2 separate regions of the Homo sapiens genome follow, and region 1 is linked to region 2. Evidence: promoter capture Hi-C in human tissues and cell types (Jung and others, 2019). All regions are on one chromosome and are shown on one strand. The core of a region is centred on a gene start or on the middle of the fragment in contact, and the rest is flanking DNA. Distances in the headings are between cores, read along the strand shown. Region 1 overlaps SPINK8 (serine peptidase inhibitor Kazal type 8 (putative)). Region 2 holds the start of CDC25A (cell division cycle 25A).

What was found. Contacts are between HindIII fragments. The study calls those that stand out against the background at their distance.
Region 1: a contact is called between a fragment that was not itself captured here and the fragment with the promoter of CDC25A in region 2, in 1 of the 25 tissues and cell types used here (IMR-90 fibroblasts).

What each region holds. Positions count from the first base shown.
Region 1 is chr3:48,317,594-48,320,293 of GRCh38, forward strand. It overlaps SPINK8 (serine peptidase inhibitor Kazal type 8 (putative)), which reads right to left. Exons shown (of 8, transcript NM_001080525.3): 6 at 1,904-2,025. Among named protein-coding and RNA genes, the nearest start is that of MIR2115, 2.5 kb to the left of the region's middle. The HindIII fragment of the contact is 4,808 bases long and covers 1-2,700 here.
Region 2 is chr3:48,187,101-48,189,800 of GRCh38, forward strand. CDC25A (cell division cycle 25A) reads right to left here and starts at 1,317. Exons shown (of 15, transcript NM_001789.3): 1 at 678-1,317. The coding sequence starts at 847. RefSeq lists an enhancer at 402-1,030 and a silencer at 774-983. The HindIII fragment of the contact is 16,525 bases long and covers 1-2,700 here.

The DNA of each region.
Region 1 (2,700 bases), core at 201-2,700, 130 kb after region 2:
CAAGCTCCACCTCTCAGGTTCATGCCATTCTCCTGCCTGAGCCTCCTGAGTAGCTGGGACTACAGGCACCCGCCACCACGTCTGGCTAATTTTTTGTATTTTTAGTAGAGATGGGGTTTCACCATGTTAGCCAGGATGGTCTCTATCTCCTGACCTCCTGATCTGCCCGTCTCAAAAGAACTTTGCTCTGTTGCCCAGGCTAGAGTGCAGTGGCACGATCATGGCTCACTGCAGCCTTGAACTCCTGGGCTCAAGCAATCATCCTGACTTCCAAGTAGCTAGGACTACAGGCAGGTGCCACCATGCCTGGCTAATTTTTTAATTTTTTTTTGTAGAGTCAGGGTCTCGCTATGTTGCTCATGTCTCAAATCCCTAGGCTCAAGCAATCCTTCTGCCTCAGCTTCCCAAAGTGTTGGGATTACAGGCTTGAGCCACCCCTCCAGGCAAAAATATTTTTTAAAATTTTTGTAATTAAGTTGGTATTAATCCAAATTAGATTGGTATAAATTAGAATTTAACTTGTAATATCCAGTGCAACTGCTAAGAGAATAATTTCTTTTTTTTTGAGACGGAGTCTTGCTTTATCTCCCAGGCTGGAGTGCAGTGATGCAATCTCAGCTCACTGCAACCTCCGCCTCCTGGGTTCGAGGGATTCTTCTGCCTCATCCTCCTGAGTAGCTGGGATTACAGGCATGCACCACCACACCCGGCTAATTTTTGTATTTTTAGTAGAGACGGGATTTCATCATATTGGCCAGGCTGGTCTCGAACTCCTGACCTCAGGTGATCCGCCCACCTCGGCCTCCCAAAGTGCTGGGATTACAGGCGTGAGCCACTGCGCCCAGCTAGAATAATTTCTAAGATACACTGAAAGGGAGCTCTTTAGAGGCCATCTCTCAGATGTCTCCTGGTTCCAGCATCGTTTGACTCTGTCATGCTGCGCATTCCCCAGATGATGCTTTCTGATTGTCAGGTGTCAGCGTCTGTGCCAGTGATTGAGGCTGACACCAAAGTTGTTTACCTTACAACTCTCGTATGGGTTCTAGTGTAAGCTTTAGTGTTTATTCAGCCAAGAATACAAGAAAGTCCGATCCTGCCCAGCCAAATATCTCTCATCCTGATCAAGAAGATTCTTATTCCTTCTCTGGAGGAGAAGCTAAGAAGAGGAAGGGGAGAGAGACTTAATTCTGATCTACTCTTGTGTTTTTGCTTTTCTCTCTTAAGATAGCACTCAACTTGTAAGCCTTAGTTAGACAAGGGTGTGGCTTTTCTCCTTAAAGGAGAAGGCAGATGTCAGAGAATCCTCCTAACTGTATACGGAGTTTCCTTCATACAAACCCCTGCTCCTCACTATTCCCCTTGGGCTAAACAATTGGGCGTTTCACTTGTGTGTTACTCAAAGCTTCTAACATGTGATGGGTGCAGAGACTAAACCACATACTAAGTTGAAAGCAAAAGAAAGTTGTTTTGGAAAATAATATCCATTTTAGGACCAATAAACTATTAGCTGGGAAGATTCTTCACCCAGCTTCCTCTTCCTCTTCTTTTTGTTCTTTGTTTCTGTTCTTTGGCCTGAGGGGGCATGAGGATGACCTTCATGTAGGGTCACATGATCTACATGCTATGGCTGCTTGTTTCTGAGTGCCTCCACTTGAGGCTTGTCCAGGTCACACACAGTGCCCTCACCTTAGTGGATTTCTGTTTCTGCATTGTCTGAATAGGATCACATGTACCTTTTGAGGTCACAGAAAGGAATGGAAGAAAGGGAGGAACAAATACTGGAGGAATGTCTGGAGAGAAGGTCTCATTGGATGATGTAGGAAGTGGGCTGAGGTCATCACCCTCTTTTGACCACTCTTAACCTCTTGACTTGAAAGAAAGGGAGAACAAAATTAGGACTTACAGAATTTTGGAGCACAGATGGCAGTCACTACTGTAGGTAACCTGGTCACTGCCACAAATAGGTTCACTGGGCTTGATGTAGGATAAAAACCAGCACTTATTTACATTCTTGAGGCATTCAACCTGAAGGTGAGACACACACAACTGCTTCAGACACTTTCATCCAGGTCCTTTGGCCGTTATTATGTATAGCTTGGGAGGTGGATGGAATACGAGCACCAGATCAGGAGTTCAGAGAAAAGGATTCAGAAGCCTCAGTGTTTGACCCCAACAGTTACCACCCACAATATGTATATAATTGCAAAATAATATATAATCTGTGCACTCTCCAGACTCCCATAAATTCTTTATTAAGATAAAAATACCGGCCGGGCGCGGTGGCTCATGCCTGTAATCCCAGCACTTTGGGAGTCCGAGGTGGGTGGATCACGAGGTCAGGAGATCGAGACCACGGTAAACCCCATCTCTACTAAAAATACAAAAAATTAGCCGGGCGTGGTGGTGGGCGCCTGTAGTCCCAGCTGCTGGGGAGGCTGAGGCAGGAGAATGATGTGAACCTGGGAGGCGGAGCTTGCAGTGAGCCGAGATCGCGCCACTGCACTCCAGCCTGGGCGACAGAGCAAGACTCCGTCTCCAAAAAAAAAAAAAGATAAAAATCCCTGCCCTCTGTAACCTAACAATCATATTTTTGTACCAACCCCAAAATGTGATTGGTAGGTTACAGAGAGCAGAAGTAGGGAAATGTCTTTCCAGGTTAAAATTTCTGATGAAGGGCCAGGCATGGCGGCTCACGCCTGC
Region 2 (2,700 bases), core at 67-2,566:
TTTCTGCTTTTCAGAAGTTGGGAAACGCACAAGACATGTGCTTAGCAAACGGGATGCCAGAGATTGAAGGGAAAGTAGCTCTTCCGCGGGAAACACCGTGGGATGCATTTTTTGCTATCAGGAAAAGCCCAGGAAGCTTTCTGAAAGTTGGGTAAAAAGACCTGGCCTTAGGAAAGCAGCAGAGTGGACATCAGGAATGTGCACAGGGCGAGGGACTGAGATGATTTTACATAAACGCCAGGAAAGAAAATGCCATGGTCCTTTGTTGAGAAGGAACAAAGATCACAGCAAACGAAGATCCTGAGGATGGTTTAGCAAAGGGTGAAAGTGAGTGCCTAGAAGAGCCTGATTTTCCCCGCGGGGGTAGATTCCAAAGAGCTTCCAGGGATAGAGATAGAAGGAGAGTACGGAGCAATCCGAAAGGGGTGAAGGTGGGCCTGGCTCGGGCTTAGGCCCAAGGATCTCCACCTCTTCCCCTGGAAGGTCCCGACGGCCTCTCCCGCCCAACATTCCGCCCGGGCGGGGGTGCACATGGCAGGCCCTAGCCCGGCTGTCCCCGAGCGGCGAACCCGGACGGACGGGTCTCGCCCTTCTCCCGGTCCGTTTCCTGGCCTGATCTCTCCGAGGCCGACACCGAGGCCAGGGGCCCGGAGCACCGCCCGCCGGTCTCTCCTTACCTGCCCAGACCCTGCAGCTGGTCCATAGTGACGGTCAGGTTGGTGACAGGCGACAGTCCCCCGGCGGCTGAAGCGCCAAATAGCGCCTTCACGACGGGCTGCGACGCGGGAGGGGGGCTGCAGGCGAAGAGCAGGCGGCGGCGGTGCGGGGGCTCCGGGCCCAGTTCCATGGCGGCGCCCGGCCTCGCAGAGCTCCCGCTCCCTCTTCCTCTGCCTCCGCCGCGACCGCCCCGCCCCGCCGACACCGGCCTCGGCCGCGCGCCACCGGCGCCCGCGGGTCAAACACAAACACGACTCCGCGGTTCAGGGACGCGGCTGCCGCGGGCAAGCGGCGCGGCCGGGCGGGTGTGCGGACCCTCCAGGCGCCAGCCACCAGCCACAGGCACGGGTGCTTCCCTCTCACACCGCGAGGCCAGCGGGCGGGCGGGCGCCGGCAACCTGAAGATTAAATCCAAACAAACGTGGCGGGTCGGCAAGAGAAGCCGGGCGAGAGCCTCGAGGCAACGGCCCAGGCTCACGCTGTCTTCGCTGTTCTCCCACCCGCTTGCCCAGCTCCGGGTAGCAGAAAACCAAGCCGACCTACACCTCTTACCCAGGCTGTCGCAGCCAGGCCGGCCTTTCGCGGTAATAGCGGCTCAGTGGGGCCAGCTGCTGCCCCGCCCCCCTTTCCTAGTTGGCGCCAAACGGAATCCACCAATCAGTAAGCAACTTCTCCTCCTCTCAACCGAATGGCAGCTAGGCTGGGCCAATGAGAGGGGAAGAAGAAAGCGGCTCGCGGGACTCTGCCAGGTCATCGGCTCTCAGAAGGGGGCGGAGCCCAGAGCAGAAGAGCGGGGATCAAAATGAGAGGGGGAGCAGAGGTCAATGAAAACTCCCAGCAGAACCTGCGAGGCGCTGCTCGCGGCTGAAAGGCCCCTTTGCCCCGTCGCATGCTGGGAAGCGTAGTTCCCATCGCGAGCTGCCGTCCAGTTAGCTTCGGCCCCCTTTGGGCCTCCGCTACCTCGCCCCCAGCCGGGCGCCCCACACTCTGAGGCAATGTGGAGGCTAAGGAAGACCTGTGGAGGTCTGGCCGGATCCAGCCTTGGCTCGGCCTCTAACCGTGCAGTATTGTGGACCCCTTTCTTCCGCCCCGGGCCTCCAGGCCCCATTTTATAATGAGGGAGGGAATGCAATGACCCCCAGGACTGGACTCGACCACCAGGGCCCAACTCTGGAGGGCTCACAGACCCTGGGTGCTGCTGGCCTCATGGGATTTGAACCCCGCAGTACAACCTGTGCTGTGGGCCTCAGCATTTTTTGCTCACTTCCATTCTAGCCCTTATTGGATGCTCTTAGAATCATTTCTTTCTTTCCCACCACTTCTTAGCCCCCTGGGAGCTCCTAGAGAGAAATAACAGCAAACACAATAATAGCAAATAATAGCTAAAGTTTACATAATGCTTATGCACTTGACACTGTTCCCAGTGTGTTAATCTGTATTAATTCATTTAATCTTTACAACTCTGTGACATAGGAATTATCCCCATTTTCTAAGTGGGCATATTTACTTTTACAGCGCCGAACCTGTGGCAGCTCCTAGACGGATTTTGAGGGCCATAAGTGCATGATTTAATTGCAACCTACTGCTGGGCTTAGTGGCTCACGCCTATCATCCCAGCACTTTGGGAGGGCGAGGTGGGAGGATTGCCTGAGCCCACGAATTTGAGACCAGCCTGGGCAACAAAGTGAGACACCCCCTGCCCCCCACTCAAAAAAAAAAAACCCTACAGTTTGAAAAGCCATGCTGGACAGGTGGAAACCCCAAACCTTTGGCCCCAACACCAGACCCTTCACAGTGAGGAACCTCTCTCTCAGGATTCATCTCCTTTTCTGTGCACCAGTGCTCCACCACCCAGGAACCTCCCTTCCCTCCAGAAACCCCAGGCTATTTAGGCCTCTCTGCACAGTTCACATGGTCTGTGGTCCCACTGTTTCAAATAGTTCTCCCTGTCGTATCTCTGAATACTTTCCTCTCCTCCTGTGT